3 separate regions of the Homo sapiens genome follow, and all the other regions are linked to region 2. Evidence: promoter capture Hi-C in 16 types of primary human blood cells and fetal thymus (Javierre and others, 2016). All regions are on one chromosome and are shown on one strand. The core of a region is centred on a gene start or on the middle of the fragment in contact, and the rest is flanking DNA. Distances in the headings are between cores, read along the strand shown. Region 1 overlaps SLC4A2 (solute carrier family 4 member 2). Region 2 holds the start of UBE3C (ubiquitin protein ligase E3C). Region 3 holds the start of ASIC3 (acid sensing ion channel subunit 3).

What was found. The method cuts DNA at HindIII sites, captures the fragments that hold promoters and counts their contacts. A CHiCAGO score of 5 or more calls a contact.
Region 1: a contact is called between a fragment that was not itself captured here and the fragment with the promoter of UBE3C in region 2, in 1 of 17 cell types (naive B cells). The highest score is 5.5, in naive B cells.
Region 3: a contact is called between the fragment with the promoter of ASIC3 here and the fragment with the promoter of UBE3C in region 2, in 1 of 17 cell types (total B cells). The highest score is 10.4, in total B cells.

What each region holds. Positions count from the first base shown.
Region 1 is chr7:151,066,827-151,070,336 of GRCh38, forward strand. It overlaps SLC4A2 (solute carrier family 4 member 2), which reads left to right. Exons shown (of 23, transcript NM_003040.4): 7 at 25-167; 8 at 1,048-1,228; 9 at 3,121-3,256; 10 at 3,355-3,510. Among named protein-coding and RNA genes, the nearest start is that of SLC4A2, 9.0 kb to the left of the region's middle. RefSeq lists an enhancer at 2,960-3,460. The HindIII fragment of the contact is 1,160 bases long and covers 1,463-2,622 here.
Region 2 is chr7:157,137,676-157,141,549 of GRCh38, forward strand. UBE3C (ubiquitin protein ligase E3C) reads left to right here and starts at 1,251. Exons shown (of 23, transcript NM_014671.3): 1 at 1,251-1,663. The coding sequence starts at 1,598. RefSeq lists silencers at 743-1,092, 1,373-1,762, 1,813-1,882. The HindIII fragment of the contact is 7,086 bases long and covers 1-3,874 here.
Region 3 is chr7:151,046,913-151,050,471 of GRCh38, forward strand. It overlaps ASIC3 (acid sensing ion channel subunit 3), which reads left to right and starts at 1,619. Exons shown (of 11, transcript NM_004769.4): 1 at 1,619-2,507; 2 at 3,194-3,344. The coding sequence starts at 1,974. ABCB8 (ATP binding cassette subfamily B member 8) reads left to right here. Exons shown (of 16, transcript NM_007188.5): 16 at 1-870. RefSeq lists an enhancer at 3,131-3,559. The HindIII fragment of the contact is 11,911 bases long and covers 634-3,559 here.

The DNA.
Region 1 (3,510 bases), core at 793-3,292, 6.1 Mb before region 2:
AACCTTGGTCCTCTGCCCCCACAGGTCACCGGTTTGAGGACGTTCCTGGGGTGCGGCGGCACTTGGTGCGGAAGAATGCCAAAGGTTCCACACAGAGTGGCCGAGAAGGGCGGGAGCCTGGCCCCACACCTCGGGCCCGACCCCGGGCCCCCCACAAGCCCCATGAGGTACCATGCTCTGCTTCATGCTCTTCCATCAACTTCCCACACGACCCTGCCCCTACCTCTCAGACCAGCTGTAATCTCAAGCCTCAGGGTTGCCACTGTTGTTTTGTTGTTGTTTGAGACAGTCTCGCTCTGTTGCCCAGGATGGAGTGCAGTGGTGTGATCTCAGCTCACTGCAACCTCTGCCTCCTGGGTTTAAGCGATTCTCCTGCCTCAGCCTCCTGAGTAGCTGGGATTACAGGCACCTGCTACGCCCAGCTAATTTTTGTATTTTTAGTAGAGATGCAGTTTTACCATGTTGGCCAGGCTGGTCTCCAACTCCTAGCCTCTAGGAATCCGCCCGCCTCGGCCTCCCAAAGTGCTAGGATTACAGGCATGAGCTGCCGCGCCGGGCCCAGGGATGCCACCTTTGGTTGTGAAGGTTGTACACTGCACAAGAGTGCAGTATACACATCTTAGAGCTTATTGACTTGGGCACTGTGATTATACTCCCCATGGTGGATGTCGTTGATTTGAGTATTGTGGTTATAATTCACGTCTGTTAAAAGGCCTGCAAAACGCCATTGCTTTCATATACAGTGGCCATTTCTCAAGTGCTCACTCTGAGGCACGTAGCGTGCCATGTGCTTTTCCTTTTCATCCTTCTGACAGTTCTTTGAGGTGGGTATTATTCCCATTTGACAGATGAGGGAAACTGCGTCTCATTGGTTAGTCAGTTGTCCAGGGTCCCAGCTGGCTGTGGGACTGGTGCGCCTGTGCACCACCCACTGTGCTCGTGCTCTCCAGGGTCACTTGGCTCCCTCTGACACCACTCACCTCTGACACCCACCCCAGGGCTGCCTCCGGCTCTGTACCCTGAAATGCCTTCTCTTCTCTCCCCAAGGTGTTTGTGGAGCTGAATGAGTTGCTCCTGGACAAAAACCAGGAGCCCCAGTGGCGGGAGACAGCTCGCTGGATCAAATTTGAAGAGGACGTGGAGGAGGAGACTGAGCGCTGGGGGAAGCCCCACGTGGCCTCCCTCTCCTTCCGCAGTCTCCTGGAGCTCCGCAGGACCCTGGCCCATGGTAACCCCGCTCCCCTCCACCTCCCGCCTGGCCAGTCCCCAGGAAATTCTCCCACATGGCCCCAAATCTGTCTTGAGCCCCACGTTGTGTGACAGCCCCAGAGCCCAGAGGAAGCATGGTCCACACCCAGCTCACATTTGCATTTTCGGCCAGCAGCTTCTTGATATTCTCAGATAACAACTGAAGCCGATGTGTTTTGGTTGCGAAAATGTTCGAGAAGCTATTTAGATGTAAAGCTTTCTGAAATTCCTGGCATGCCTTGGTACCATCTTAGAGATTCTGTGGAATGTGATCTAATCTGCAGCTGTGTAGACCTCACGAAATGACCACCGACCACAGATGCAGGACTTCCAAGCCCTGTGTTTGCTTGCTTGCTCCTTCCCAATGAGTGACCACTCTCAGTTGTTGTTAAAAGGCCTGTTTCTAAGCAGCTGAGGTTCTGTGGTTTGAGGCAGCCTAGGAAAAAAATTAATTTTTTTTTTCGAGACAGGATCTTGCTCTGTTGCCCAGGCTGGAGTACAGTGGTGTGATCTTGGCTCACTGCAACCTCCACCTCCCATGCTCAAGTGATCCTCCTGCCTCAGCCTCCCAAGTAGCTGGAACTACAGGCGCGTGCTACCATGCCTGCCTAATTGTTTTATTTTTAGTAGAGATGGGGTTTCACCATGTTGCCCAGACTGGTCTCAAACTCCTGGGCTCAAGTGATTTACCCGCCTCAGCCTCCCAAAATGTTGGGAATACAGGCATGAGCCACTGTGCCTGGCTTAAAATTAAATTAAAAAAAAAAAAGTAAACGAAGCAGCTGCTGGGCGCGGTGGCTCATGCCTATAATCCCAGCACCTTGGGAGGCTGAGGTGGGTGGATTACGAGGTCAGGAGATTGAGACCATCCTGGCTAACAAGGTGAAATCCCATCTCTACTAAAAATACAAAAAATTAGCGGGGCACGGTGGCAGGTGCCTGTAGTCCCAGCTACTTGAGAGGCTGAGGCAGGAGAATGGTGTGAACCTGGGAGGTAGAGCTTGCAGTGAGCCAAGATCATGCCATTGCGCTCCAGCCTGAACGACAGAGCGAGACTCTTATCACCAAAAAAAAAAAAAAAAAAAGCAGCTGAGGACCTAGAAACCGGCTTTTAGAATTGTTTCCCAACTAGGAGTCCATAGGCCGTGAGTGAGGCTCAGGGTCTTTGGGTAAAGGGCCGCCGTGGAAGGGCTTTCTCACTGGGCGTTGTGGTCTCCAGCCTGGCTGCTCAGGGGTGTTTGGTTCTGTTTATTCTTTAGTCTTTGTTCCTGAAAGTTGGCCTTGCCAGATGAATGACCTGGTAACTTTTGAAGGGACTGTTATTTCTGTGTGCAATGGCGAGGGGAGGTTGAGAAGCCGACAAGGAAGTCAAGAAGCTTGGGGCGGAGGGGGGTCTTCAGATGGCTCCAGGGTGGCCACACGGACGAGGCTGCAGACCAGCTGAGTTGTGTATCAGGGTAGAACTAGGCCCCTAGAGTGACACAGCACCTGGCTCACTTAGAGGAGAGTTTTCTAACAGCCAAGAGGGTTCAGCCAGAGTGGGCGGCCTGGACCGTCCCCATGGAGGCCGGATGCTTCCTGGAAGGGGTGTCTGACAGGCGTGGCCTAGATGGCCTCTCTGGTCACTGAGGTTCAGTAGTCTCTGTGGAGCCTCATAACGTTCCTGGGGGTCTGGGGGAGGGGAGGAACCAGAGGGTTGATGTGACGTAGGCTCCTGTGGGAGCCAGAACTCGAGCCCGCGTCCTTCATGTGTAGGCTGGTGTTCCAGCCCCGGCACCCACCCACCTGTCCCCAGCTCCTGCTCCCCATCCCATCTCCTGCCACTGTTTTGTGACCTGGGGCTGAGGGGCCCTCTGTGCCATCTTATGCTAGGGGCTGTGCTCTTGGATCTGGACCAGCAGACCCTGCCCGGAGTGGCCCACCAGGTGGTGGAGCAGATGGTCATCTCTGACCAGATCAAGGCCGAGGACAGGGCCAACGTGCTGCGGGCTCTGCTGTTGAAACACAGGTGAGGCCCTGTGGGCCAGTTGGGGATGACACTTCAGCCCACCTGCCCTGGCCCTTGTCATTGACCCTCCTTTGCCTCACTGCCCTCTGCCCCACCAGCCACCCAAGTGATGAGAAGGACTTCTCCTTCCCCCGCAACATCTCAGCTGGCTCCCTGGGCTCCCTGCTGGGGCATCACCATGGTCAGGGGGCTGAGAGTGACCCCCACGTCACCGAGCCTCTCATGGGAGGTGTTCCTGAGACCCGGCTGGAGGT
Region 2 (3,874 bases), core at 1-2,500:
TGCCTTAGCCTCCAGAGTAGCTTGGACTACAGGCGTGCACCACCACACCGGCCTAAGTTTTGTATTTTATTAGAGATGGGGTTTCACCATGTTGGCCAGGCTGGTCTCGAACTTTTCACTTCAGGTGATCCGCCCGCCTTGGCCTCCCAGAGTGCTGGGATTACCGGCGTGAGCGACCGTGCTCGGCCGCAGGACGACTGTAGATGATATCGTATTGTGTGTTGAAATTTTGCTAAGAGAGTAGATTTTATGTACTCTTACCACACACACACAAAGAGGGTAGTCATTTCACAATGTCTCTATGAAATCATCATGTTGCACACCTTGTATACAACCAAAAATCAATTTTTAGAAATTGGTTTCAATCGTGTATGATATATATGTATATGCACATGTATATGAGATATTATGTATACGTATGTGTGGATATAAGACACATGTTTATGTATAGGTGGTCCCCAACTTAAAATGGCTCAACTTACAATTTTTTGACTTTGTGATGGGTTTATTGTAGCATTAAATACATTTTCAACTTACAATATTTTCATCTTACGATGGGTTTATCAGGACAAAGCCCCATGGTAAGTCCAGGAGCAAATATTTTTGCATACACAGGTATGTGTACATGATACATATTTATATGTATTGATGCTGTATCTATAGATGCATATGTGTGCTATGTATGAGGCAAATCTGCGCATGTCTGTGTACATGGTAAATATTTACGTCCGTCTGTGCGTGTCATAGACATAGAACAGGTGGGATGTAAACAGACGGGCTGGGCCTAGCTGCTCCTTTCCCGCCTCACTCGAGTCTGGCACCAGATTGGCCGCTCCCAGCCCGCTCCGGGTGCCGGCCCCTGCACCCCACCCTGCACCCCGCACCCTGCCCTGCACCCCATCCCGGCCCGTGCCTCGCACTCCACCTTTCCCGCACCCTGCCCCGCACCCAACACCTCCCGCGCCCCTCGCCGCGCTCCCCCAGCACGCACCAGGCCCCGCCCACTCCGCCGCGTGCCCAGCCCGCGTCACCGCCGTCCTCCCCAGGCTCCAGCGCGCCTTGCGGGGCCGCGCACGCTAGCGGAACCGCCGGGAAGAGCGCCGTGCCGTCAATGGCGGAGGCGCGCACGTCTGCAGGGCCGCGCACGTCTGCAGGGCCGCGCACGTCTGCAGGGCCGCGCACGTCTGCAGGGCCGCGCACGTCTGCAGGGCCGCGCACGTCTGCAGGGCCGCGCACGTCTGCAGGGCCGCGCACGCACTGACGGCTGACCGCCATCTTCCCTCCCGAGGCGGCAGTTCCAGGTGCAAGCGCCGGGTTTGCTGCCCGCTGGGCGCCCCTGCAGCGGCCCGAGCTGTGGCCGGCGTGGATGAGGGGCAGGCGAGGCAGGGCCGCCCCTCCAGTATTGCCGCCCCTCCCGCCCCAGGGCAGGGCTGGGAGGGTACAGCCCGGGGGCGGGCTCGGGTCGCCTCCCGGCCGCCGCGTCCTCGCTGCCCCGGGCCGGGCGGGCGGGCGCCGAGAGCCTCCCAGCCCGCCCCGTGCCCCGCCCGCCCGGCTGCTTCCGCGGCGGCGCTGCCCGCACATGGGCTAGGCTGCCAGGATGTTCAGCTTCGAAGGCGACTTCAAGACGCGGCCCAAGGTGTCCCTTGGCGGCGCGAGCAGGAAGGTGAGGGCCGGGCTGGCGGGGCGCCCTCGGCTCGGGGCCTGCGCGGCCGGGGCTCGGGGCTGGGACTCGGGGCTGGACTCGGGGCTGGACTCGGGGCCGAGACTTGGGGCTGGATTCGGGGCCTCCCTGGCGGGGACTCGGGGCTTCCTCGCCGGATCTCGGGGCCGCTCCGGCCGGGACTCGGGGTTGGACTCGGAGCCGAGACTTGGGGCCAGGACTCTGGCTGGGGCTTAGGACTGGACTCGGGGCCTCCCTGGCTGGAACTCGAGGCCGCGCCCGTGGGGGCCTTGCCTGTCCACTGCGCTTCGGGACCCGGGCGCGCTGGCCGTGGCTCCCTTCCATGCAGGAGGCCGGTGAACCCTGGCACGCTTTGTGCCACCCAAGGTGAACTTACCCTTTCTGGGTGTTTCCTTTCAGAAATGCGCTTTCCATGCTCGCTCCCGCATGGCATCAGGGAGTGGCTGCTTTTCGAATGCCACCTGAAGGGCGTTTTCGGTTGTAGAAGGTGAACGGCACGCATTTGCTGATGTCGATAATCTCTAAAGTAGAGGCAGAACGTCTCATGAATAGCCACGTGTTTGAATCCAAGACGAGGGCAATTATTTGCCACCAGCCTCCTGGAAACTGTGGAGAGACTCCGGACTTACATCTGTTGTGATCGACATTAAGTTGTTCGCATGGTAATTGTTTAGGATAAGGGTAGGCAAACCATGACGCCTCTGTTCTAGTCTAGAATTTCTAGCTGTCTGTCCCTGAAGACGGGCATCAGTTGGTTCACTGGAACCGCTAAGTCGTTGAACACTGTGTGGTCTTGTTCCCGCCCCTCCCTTCCCACCCCTTCCCATCATTTCTGAAATGTTCTTTAAAATGCTTCACCTAGTTTTTCTTGTCTATCAGTATATTCTGTATATCACAACCACCAGGTAGGCACATAACGCAGAGTGGGTGCTGGCAGGCCAAGGAGGAACTGCTGTTATTAAGATTGTGCTGTGGGGCTGTGTTTGGTGGTTTCTGAGGTTAGAAGGGAACCTGGGTAAAGAGTTGGGAGAGAAGTGTGCTGATAATTTTTCAGCTTTGAGGTTCGTGTGATGGTGATTGCTTGGAAGTCACTTGTGCTCCAGAACTAAGTACTGTGCAGTTAAGGGTGGTCGTGGTAGCACTTAGGGTCTTCCACGTTAATGAAAATGTTTTATGAGATCAAAGGATTTCTACAGTTAGGAGAGACTTCAGAGAATCTCAGGGCCAAATCGCCTTGCTTACAAGTTCGGAAGGTGAGCTGCAGAACATTTGAAGGAGTGCCCATTCACACAGCAAGCTAGTGGCAGACCATCTGAGACTCCATGCCATTTACACAGCGCCGCGCGGCCTCTGTTGCAGGCAGGAACACCCCACGGGCCACGGATGTTGGTCCCTTTTCACCAAGGAGTGCATCTCTGCTCTGAGGGAGTGAGATTTCTTAACTGTTGATCAGAATCTCAAGGGAAGATAGCACGAGCTGTGTAAAAGAATCACCCCTTTAAAAACAAAACTCTTTTTATTGAGGTATAACTTAAGATACAGTCAGGTTCACAAACACTAAAGAGATCCTTGTGCAAGTGAAATTGAGGAGGAAGGGCGAGAGGGAAGCTGGGTAGGGAAGGAAAAGGCGTCTCAGCTGGAGGCTAGCGTTAACCCCATCTCACCAGGAGCATGCTACAATTGGCCCTAATTGCGGCAGAGGGGTTGGTGGCTGCAGGCTGCTGCCCCTCCGGGATGAGGGTGGGAGTGTGGCACTGCTAACCCTGAGCCGAGGGCCATTCTTCTGGGAGAGAGTGGCAGTAAAGAGCCCTTAGTAGGAACTGGCAGCAGCTGGGGCATGGGTGCCCTGGCCTGGTTAAGGAATCTGGGTGGGGAGCCAGCTGTATGTACAGCTTGAAGGATTTTTGCATATGGACACTCTCCTGTAGATGGAACACCACTCACATCAAAGGAAGACCATCCCCAGCATTCCAGAGGCTCCCCTGCACTCTCACCCATTCATTACAGTCATATGTGACTTAAAGAGGGGGACGCTGTCACTAGTCCAGTTGGTTGTTGTGGGACCGTCCTAGAGTGCACTTAACAGAAACCTATAGCCAGTGTTGCCCACTGCACACCTAGCTGCTTGGTACAGCCCGTTGCCCCTATGCTACACACCTGGACAGCGTGTTTCTGTGCTGAATACTGTAGGCA
Region 3 (3,559 bases), core at 369-2,868, 6.1 Mb before region 2:
TTGATATCCCACTTCCTGACAGATCAGAGGCTGTGTCTTTAAGCAGTGGAGGTCCAGGAGCAGAGCCTGGGGCTGGTTCACAGCTAAACCCCTCCTTAGGGCAGCCCAGAGTAGGGCCTCAGCTGGCAAGTCCACAAGCCCTGCTGGGGCCCTGCTTGTTGGCCTGACCCCTCCCTCACCAGGCAGCCAGCCAAGGTGGTTCCTGCTTCACCCACTCAGTCATCAGCCTCAGGCTGCCCAAAATGCCTCTGACACCAGATTTATATCTTCTGGGCGGCTTCTTTAAATCCAGCCCTTCACCCGCCCCCTAGAGAAGCAGTGAAACCCCTTGGCTAGTCCAGCTGGAAGAGCTAGACCGCAGGAGCCGCGCCGTCTTCCTAACCTCGCCTCGGCCTTCGCTCCACAGTGGAGAGTGGGAGCCTAGCTGTGCTTGATGCTGAATGCCTGTTTTGAGAGTGTGAGTGGGATCATCTACAGTAAATACTTGCAAAGCATGGCACTGTGGCTCTGGGGAGCTGGTACGCCTGTGCTGTAACCATGGTACTCAGTCCTTCCAAAGTGTTTATTAATCAAGCACCTGTCATGTGCCATTGAGCCCACGATGGGGAATGAGGACAGTCCCTGCCCCCATGAAGCTTGTGTCCTGTTGGGAGGACAGACAGGTGGCCCAGCAGTTGCAGCATGGTGTGTGCACACGTTTGGCTGGTGGAACCATGTTTCTACCACTCATGGTCAAAAAAAGCCCACCAAAGTCCTGGGAGTTCACATCTGTGTGATGATACGGCAACATTGTTTGTAATGGAAAGACTGGACACCCCCAGTGCCCATCAGTGGGGGAGTCATTAAATAAACTATGGTATGTGCACATAATGGGTGGTATGCAGCCCTTTGGAAAAATGTAGGTTTTCCAGGTCCTGGATATAGCAGCGTAAGATGGGAAATCACAGAATACCCATGTTGTGCCTGAGATGGCAGGTGGGGTACCCGTGGTACCCGGGAGGGTGGCAGGTGGGGCACCCATGTTCTACCTGGGGTGGCAGGTGAGCCCATAACCATTGTAGAGGCCAACATCCTCAGAGGCCTGAGTGTGGGGAGGTAGGCTTTGACTCCCTAGGGAGAGAGGGACACTTAGGAAACAGACGGGCCCTGGAAGTGGGACATGAAGAGTGCCCTGGCCATCCAGTGTAGGCTGAGATGCTAGGGGCACAGAAAGAAGAGATCTGCTGATGCCAGCCTTCCAACCATTTCCCAGCTTGGCCAAGAGCCAGCTCTGGTATTCGTGAAGGAACAGATCCTGGGTGAAGCTAGAGGGAAGGCCGCAGAGGCAAAAGGAGAGAGGAGCTAGGCCAGGGGTCAGCGACTGACCCTCGCGGCCAGTGTACAGGGGTTGCAACTGGGAGCCTAGGGGGCCCCAAGGCATCTCCAGGCCCAATCTACCTCTGGGCTTTTCTCAAGCTCTCCCTAGGATTACTGCGGTTTCCTCCTGGCGCCTCTCGTCTTGGACAGCCATGCCCCCCTCCATGCTGCACTAATGGCTCAGCCTGGGGCCCTAGGGACCTCTCCTACCCCCCAGACTGCTCTGTCGGCCCCCTTTCCCCCCTACTGCTGAAACCCAATCCTCTGCAGCAGCGCCGGCTCAGCACCGCCGGCTCAGCACCGCTCCGCAGCCCCTGCCTGCCACGGTCAGCTACGTCCCACCTGGTCTGCTGCGGAGTCCCCAGCCCAGTGCCTAGCCCAGTGGAGCCACCGCCTGTTCCTCGGGAAGGAACAGTGGGACCTGACCGGCCAGATCACCTCCTCCAATCCTGCCAGGCTAGTGCCTCCCTGCCTTCCAACCTTGGCTGTCTCCCACCCTCTCTTCTCCTCTCCTTGCCTGGCCTCCTGAATCCTATCTTAGCCTCCTTAGCCCCCTGACTGACTCTCTCTCGCTTCTTCCAAGCCTCTGTAGCTGGTTCCGCTCCTGGGTTCTGGCCATGAAGCCCACCTCAGGCCCAGAGGAGGCCCGGCGGCCAGCCTCGGACATCCGCGTGTTCGCCAGCAACTGCTCGATGCACGGGCTGGGCCACGTCTTCGGGCCAGGCAGCCTGAGCCTGCGCCGGGGGATGTGGGCAGCGGCCGTGGTCCTGTCAGTGGCCACCTTCCTCTACCAGGTGGCTGAGAGGGTGCGCTACTACAGGGAGTTCCACCACCAGACTGCCCTGGATGAGCGAGAAAGCCACCGGCTCATCTTCCCGGCTGTCACCCTGTGCAACATCAACCCACTGCGCCGCTCGCGCCTAACGCCCAACGACCTGCACTGGGCTGGGTCTGCGCTGCTGGGCCTGGATCCCGCAGAGCACGCCGCCTTCCTGCGCGCCCTGGGCCGGCCCCCTGCACCGCCCGGCTTCATGCCCAGTCCCACCTTTGACATGGCGCAACTCTATGCCCGTGCTGGGCACTCCCTGGATGACATGCTGCTGGACTGTCGCTTCCGTGGCCAACCTTGTGGGCCTGAGAACTTCACCACGGTGAGCTGACCTCCCTACCTATCCTGCCAGGGACCCAGAGAGCCGACCAGTCCCTGCCCAGCACCCACAATTCCCTAGCCAGCACAGGCTCCCCCAAAGCCAGGGGACCTCTTCCTTCCTACCAGCCATGGACTCCCCACCCCCCAGTGCCACTCCGTGCAGCCCAGGAAGCTGTCCTCCTTGGGGCTTTCTCTGTCTCCCAGCCCGAGGGGAGCATGTGAGGCCACACTGACCCCGGCTGGCCCTAGGCCTGAGGTCTGGCCCAGGGAGGCCCTGCTCCTGGGGCTGGGGGTCCTCCATGGTGGGACCATTCTGGGGCAGAAGACCCCTATCTCTGCCAGGAGGTGGGGGGGGCTTGCTTTCCCTCTGCCTTTTCAACATACTGCCAGCCCCGGAGGACAGCCACAGGGGCCCATTTCCTTTTCCTGCAGTTCCCAGAGAAACACAGAAAAACCTGTAGGCTGTGCCCTGGGCTTTGGTGGGGATTGGCGGGGTGGAGGAGCTGAGTTGATGGGCTCCCAAGAGCGTCCTGCAACATGTGCCCACTGGAGCGTGGGGCTGGGGGCATTGAGATGCGGGCTTCAGTATTCAAAGAAGAGACGCAAACATACCATGAGGTGGGGAGAGGTCCCATGACCATGTGCCTGCCTGGGGGAGATGGCCATCACCCTGTCTGCCCGCCCCAGATCTTCACCCGGATGGGAAAGTGCTACACATTTAACTCTGGCGCTGATGGGGCAGAGCTGCTCACCACTACTAGGGGTGGCATGGGCAATGGGCTGGACATCATGCTGGACGTGCAGCAGGAGGAATATCTACCTGTGTGGAGGGACAATGGTAGGGAGCACACAAATGAGGCTGGGGGAGGGCACGGATGGAGTGCAAAAGGCTAGGGGAAGGAGAGGAGGAGAGGAGGTGTCAGGGTGTTCCCCCAGAACCTGTGAAAGGGGCTGGGCTGGCTCATCCCAGTCCTGGGGAGAGGGGCTGCAGTGAGAGGTCTTGTCTGGTTGGGCAGGAGACCTGACCACACAGGTCAGGCCTCACAGGTCCCT